Linked DNA regions of Homo sapiens: region 1 is linked to region 2. The links are contacts of gene promoters, found by promoter capture Hi-C in human tissues and cell types (Jung and others, 2019). All regions are on one chromosome and are shown on one strand. Each heading gives the region's core, a stretch centred on a gene start or on the middle of the fragment in contact. The rest is flanking DNA. Distances are from core to core; before and after follow the strand shown. Region 1 overlaps TOP2B (DNA topoisomerase II beta). Region 2 holds the start of LRRC3B (leucine rich repeat containing 3B).

Evidence for each region. The method cuts DNA at HindIII sites, captures the fragments that hold promoters and counts their contacts. A contact is called where the count stands out against the background at its distance.
Region 1: a contact is called between a fragment that was not itself captured here and the fragment with the promoter of LRRC3B in region 2, in 2 of the 25 tissues and cell types used here (dorsolateral prefrontal cortex and thymus).

The regions. Positions count from the first base shown.
Region 1 is chr3:25,653,603-25,656,991 of GRCh38, reverse strand. The region is part of intron 1 of TOP2B (DNA topoisomerase II beta); the gene reads left to right. Among named protein-coding and RNA genes, the nearest start is that of TOP2B, 9.6 kb to the left of the region's middle. The HindIII fragment of the contact is 5,215 bases long and covers 1-3,389 here.
Region 2 is chr3:26,621,044-26,624,099 of GRCh38, reverse strand. LRRC3B (leucine rich repeat containing 3B) reads right to left here and starts at 1,328. Exons shown (of 2, transcript NM_052953.4): 1 at 863-1,328. LRRC3B-AS1 (LRRC3B antisense RNA 1) reads left to right here and starts at 1,337. Exons shown (of 4, transcript NR_183726.1): 1 at 1,337-1,499. RefSeq lists an enhancer at 1,479-1,994. The HindIII fragment of the contact is 7,905 bases long and covers 1-3,056 here.

The DNA of each region.
Region 1 (3,389 bases), core at 454-2,953, 970 kb after region 2:
TTTGCATAGCCTCTAGTGAGAAAGTTGGGGTTGCAGAAGTAATAAATAGGTGTAAACATTGCCTCTAGGAAAAGAAACCTTCAGTTTTATTCTAGCTTAATTATGTTTTCACATACTTGGGTTAATAAGCCTTTAACATATTTCTTTATGCATTCATTGTAGAAATTTAGAAAAGGTGTAGAAAAGATAAAAGTGGCATGTATTTCTACTCTATAGATAATTTTTATTGATATTCTGTTGGGCATATTTCACATTTTTTCCTATGCATGCATATATTATGCATAATTTTTTTCTGACAAAAATGGGCTCATGTTTTATATATACTCCTTTGTAATGCCCACTAAACAGTGCCATTTTGATAAACTACTAATTTAAACATACTTGATTATCTTTACTAATATAAATTTTCTATAAAAACTAGAGCAATAAAAGATTAACACCAATTATTTTTAGTATAGTAATTATAGACTTATTTACTCATTGAAACGTCCAAGTTTAAGGGTTTATATTAAGGATTTTTGTTTGTTTTTTATCTATTTATTTATTTATTTATTTTTGTGATGGAGGCTTGCTATCACCCAGGCTGGTCTCAAATTCCTGGGCTCAGGGGATTGATCCTCCGGTCTCAGACTCCAGAGTAGCTGGGACGACAGGCCTATGGCACCATGCCCTAGGTTTTATAAGTTGTTTGATATTATAATTGGCAGTTGATTTGAAATATCTGCAAATGACTTCCATTGTATTCTATAAATAATGTGTATCCCTTAAGGCTTTTCCTGACTTTAAATAGAATGGTATATCTTTTTCTTTCCTCAATAGTTGTCATATGATATTTAGAAAAAAGTGTATTGTCACACATTCATCACACTTATTTTACAGTATTTCTATGTTCTTCCTAGAGAAAATTACAAATAATATTAGACAAAGTCATCTACATTTCACATGTTCAATTTTTTTTGTTGTAAAAAAATACAACATTAAATTTACTGTCTTAGCCATTAAGTGTAGAGTTCGGTAGTGTTAAATATATTTACATTGTTAAGCAACAGATCTCTAGAAGTATTTCATTTTCCCAAACTGAAACTATATCTACTAAACACTAATTCCCTCTCCCCCCAGCCCTTGGTTAACCACCTTTCTACTTTCTGTTTCTATGATTTTGATTACTGTGGATACTTTATATGATTGTAATCATACAGTATTTGTCCTTTGTGACTGGCTTATTTTGTTTAGCATAATATCCTTGAGGTTCATCCATGTTATAGCACATGACAAGATTTCCATGTTTTTTGAGGCTGCATAATACTCCATTGTATCTATATACGCATTTTAAAAATCCATTCATACACCAGTGAACATTTGGGTTGCCTCGCCTTTTGGCTATTATGAATAATACCGTGATGAACATGGGTGTGCAAATATCTCTTTGAGATTTTGCTTTGAATTCTTTTGGATATATACCCAAAAGTGGGATTGCTGGATCATATAGTAATTCTATTTTTAATTTTTTGAGGAACCTCCACACTATTTCCATAATGGCTGTAGCATTTTTCTAGCATTTTATATTCTCACCAACAGTGTAGAAATGTTCCAGTTTCTCCACATCCTTACCAACAGTTATTTTCTGATGGCTGTCTTAATAGGTGTGAGGTGATATCTTATTGTGGTTTTGATTTTCATTTCTCTTATTAGTAATGTTGATTATCTTTTCATATGCTGTTGACCATTTGCATATCTTATTTGGAGAATTGTCTATTGAAATCCTTTATCCATTTGAATGGGGTTATTTTGTTATTGTCGAGTTATAGAAGCTCCTTATCTATTTTGGATATTAACCATTTGATGGTTTACAGATATTTTCTCCATTCCATACGCTGCCTTTTCACTCTGTCAGTTGTTTTCTTTGGTGCACAGAAATTCTTAAGTTTGGTGTCCTGTTTGTCTATTTTTGCTTTTGTTGCCTGTGATTTTGGTGCCATATCCATGAAATCATTGCCAAATCCAGTGTCTCAAAGGTTTTCCTTTATGTTTCCTTCTAGGAGTTTCAGAGTTTTAGGTATTACTTTTAGGTCTTTAATCTATGTTAATTTTTGTATGTGGCATGAGAGTCCAACTTCATTCTTTTGCTTGTTATCCAGTTTTCCCAGCACCATTTGTTGAAGAGACTGTCCTTTCCCCACTGTGTAGTCTTGGCATTCTTGTGAAAAATCATTTGGCCTTTTATGTAAGGGTTTATTTCTGTGCTCTCTCTTCTGTCTGTATGCCAGTGCCACACTGTTTTAGATTTCTGTTGTTCTGTAGTAAAATCAGGTTTTGAAATCAGGAGGTGTGAGGCCTTTAGCTTTATTCTTCTGATTAAAGACTGATTTAGCTCTATGGGTCCTCTTGAGATTCCATATGAATTTTAGATTTTTTTTTGTATTTCTGCAAAAAATACCATTGGGATTTTGGTAGGAATGGCATTGAATCTGTAGATCACTTTGGATAGTTTGGACATTTTAACAATATTTTAAGCTTTTAAATCCATGAGAATGGAATGCCCTTCCATTTATTGGTATCTTTTTTTCATTTCTTTTAACAATGTTTTGTATTTTGACATTATTCTCACCTCTTTGGTTAAGTTTACTCTGTGGTAGTTTATCCTTTTTGATGCTATAGTAAATGGGATTGTTTTCATAATTTCCTTTTTTGATTGGTCATGGTTACTGCATGAAAACATAACCAATTTTTGTATCCTGCAACTTGCTGAAATCATTTATTAGTTGTAATAGTTTTTCTGTGGAATCTTTTGGGTTATCTACTATAAGATTATGCCATTTGTGAGCATAATTCTACTTCTTTTCCAATTTCTATGCCTTTTATTTCCTTTTCTTGTCTTAATTGCTCTGACTAGGACTTCTAATACTATCTTGAATATTGATAATATTGGGCATCCTTGCCTTGTTCCTCCTGATCTTAGAGGAAAAGTTTTTAGTCTTTCACCAGTATATGTGCTGTTAGCTGTTGGCTTTGTGTGTATTGCTTTTATTATATTGAGGTGTTTTCTTTCTATTTCTAGTTTGTTATGTGTTTTTATCAGGAAAGTGTGTTGAATTTTGTCAAATGCTTTTTGCACATCAATTGAGATGATAATGTGTTTTTTGCCCTTCATTTTGTTAATATAGTGTAGTACAATGATTTGTTTTCATATTTGGAAACATCCTTGCATTTCAAGTATAAATCCCATTTGCTTATTGTGTGTAATCCTTTTAATGTGCTGTTGGGTCAGGCATGGTGGCTCCTGCCTGTAATCCCAGCACTTTGGGAGGCCAATGCAGGAGAATCGCTTGCGGCCAGGAGTTTAAGACCATCCTGGACAATATGGTAAAACCTTGTCTCTAGAAGAAATT
Region 2 (3,056 bases), core at 79-2,578:
CACGCGCCCCCAGGTACCCAGCCCCTCCCCCATCTGTATTTACATACCCAGGCCAGCGCCCTCCGGACTCAAATCCCTTTTCCTCTTCGTCAGATGGCCTCTCAGGGCTGGCCGCTCGCCCACATTAGCAGTACCTTTTCATTTCCCTCAACCGTGGGCAGATCTACCCGACCCTCAGCTTCCTCCTCCACCGCACGAGCAGCCTTTCCCTCCCTGAGCCACTTACTTCACCCACCCATATCTGCACTTGCAGTTCCCACGGCGCACAGCCGCAAGCCACTCCAAAGGTTTCATTGCCGAGTTGGGGGTGGCGTGTGCAAGGATGGACTGACTCCCATCGCGCTGGACGAAGCTTCAGGGGTGGCCGCAGCCATCCTCCATGTCCCACCTCTCTTATTTCACCTTCTCTGTCCCTACCCAGCTCCTAGAGGCAGGACGAGCACTGCTGGGTCCCAAACCCTCGCCTCAGGAGCCAGAGCTGCGGGGAGTGAAAAGTCGACTGGCAAGAACACACAGAGAGAAATGGGCAGATGCATATGGCAAGAGGGGCTGGGGGAAGGGCAAGAACTAAACCTGCAAGTTGCACAGCACGGGGTGAGCACCGCGCAGGGAAGGGGTCACAAAAGTTTGCAGACTATTGTATAGCAGCCGGCTGAACAGGAGCGAAGAGGGTCGACTCTCTCTCTCCAGGAGGAGGTCTCTCCCAGGGTCTGCGCAAAAGGGATCAGGGAGGCTTAGACAGGCACGGCTTAGAACTGGTGTAATAGTTCTCCTCTACTTGTTCCTTGGAGGGACGGCCTAGGTACCCGGGCAGAGGGATGATCCCGCGCTCTGCGAAAAGCAACAGGCGGCTGCACCTTACCTTGCGCCAGTCCCGGGCCGGGGTGGCTGCTCCATCCTCGTGGCTCAGGGAGGAGGCGTTGGGTGCGTATGCTTAGGGGTGTGCCCGCTGCCAGGGCTGCAGCGGCCGCCACCTCCAACCAGCTGCAAGCCGAGCTGCCCACCTGGGACCGGGCCGGCCCGGCGGGCTTGGCTCCCGGCGAAGGCGGCGGCGTTGGTGCGCGGCGGCTGGGGCGCGGGACGCAGGCAGTGCGTGGCGCGGCTGGCGTCTTCGGGCGCCGCCACCGAGCGAGGGTGCGGCCCCGGGCGGCCGTGCGGGGCACGACTTGGCTCGCGTTGCTGCGGCGGCCGCTGCAGACCCTGCTCCAGGCGCCGTAGCCTTGCAGGAAGAGCAGACAAAGACAGGAGAGAGGCAAAGCGCCGCTTGCCCAGAGATGCAGTCGGCTCAGTCAATAGAGGGAAATCGCCTCCAAACCCAGGCTGGGAATGAGGGAGGAGGGGCGAGGCGGCTGGGGACTAGAAAAAGCAGCAGGGAATTAACGTGACAGTCAGAGCCCAGCCAGTGCCTCGCCGGCGCTGCTCTCTCGCCTCGCGGTTGCGGGGTCCGGAATGGAGAGAGGAGGCGGGGGCTGAGCGTTGGCTGCCGGAGACCAGCTGAGGTAGGAGTATTAACTCCCTCTGCTGCTCTCGCCTGCCTTCCTCGCACCCCCTTACACAGCTCTACTTGCAGCAGGCTATGGCCCCATTCTTTCTCCTATTTTTCTAACTACTGAGATCAGAGCTGAATTAAGCTGGTGAAAGGAGCAAAACGTGCAAGGGATTGATTGCCCTCCTTGGGGGAAAAGCGGAGGCTTAAAATCAATTCGACAAATGAGTGTTTACTGGGTGCTGAGTACTGTGCTCCGCTATTGTGAGGGAGGGTTATGAATAAGGTACCCCCCTCCCGCCCCAGGGTCCGTTGTCTGATCTCAGAATCAGTTTCCCCTGCAGTTCTGGAAGCCCAAAGTTTCGGGGTTGAGTTGTGGTCCCTGATCCCGATCCTCAACCAATCTAGCTTTCTAAATCAGAAGAAGGTGGAATTCAATTTTCCTTTCTCCTTCCTGGGATGACTTTAACCTGCAGCCGAAATGGAGTCTATAGGCCCCTTAAAAAAGCGCGCGCACGCCAGTGTGTGTGTGTGCGAGCGCGCTCGCGTGCGCGCGTGTGTTTTAAGAGTAAGTCAAATTAATGGTTTTAGTGATGTTCTTATTTCATGATTTTAATTATTTACCATATCTGCAGTAGACACCAGTTTGGGGCAGAGGAACCCGCCTCTCCAGACTCTACAAATACCACCTTTTTTTCTAAAGCTTTTTTCCGCTACCCCAGTCCTCTGACTCGAGGCAGAAATCTTTCCCCTCTCTTTGCCCTCTCAGAATTTTATTTGCCAATCACTTGCGGAACTTATATATTTATAGATTTATCTCTTCACTCACATATGAGTATTCCCTGTGCTTTTTGTTTGTTTGTTCTCACTGCAACATCCAGCAGTGTTTTGTATCTAATGGGTACTCAAGGAAAGCTTATCCAGTTGAAGGTCATTTTCTCCTTCTGTATGAGCTAAATCTCAGTGTCTCTAGAATTAAAGAGACTCCAGGGATGGAACTTTTGATTTAGGGTGTGGTGGAGGGAACCACACATACAGTTAGACTCACAGCCCCTTTACTGGAAAGGTAATAAAGTATTTAATTCATTTTGGTCTCTAGACAATCAACCTTCTCCCACTGACCACCCACCTCTGTTTCCTGAATTCCCAAAAGCAAAAGAAAACCAAACTGCTAAGCAACTGCCTAGAGCAAGACATGTATGTTCAGCTGCCAACACCTAGAGCAAACCCATTCCAAGTGGAGAATGACCAAAAAATCTTGATTATTTCTTGACCTGTGTCAAGTATGTTGAAAGCCTGCCAAAGTTTCCTCATTTCTATTGAAGCACTCTTATTCTGGATGCATTTTAGAACAGTTTGAACAGTGTTACATTGCTCAGAGGTGAAGAAAATTGCTTTGTAGTTTAAGGATATTTAAGATTTGTTTGTTTGTTTGTTTGTTTTCTGTCCCACCTTCTACAAATTGCACGATAGATACCTCAGATCAGGAATGCTGCATGAAAAAGTATGTCCATAATGCAGGAGATTAGACTAAATGACTCTTAAGATATCTTCTGTCTCTTAGACGTTA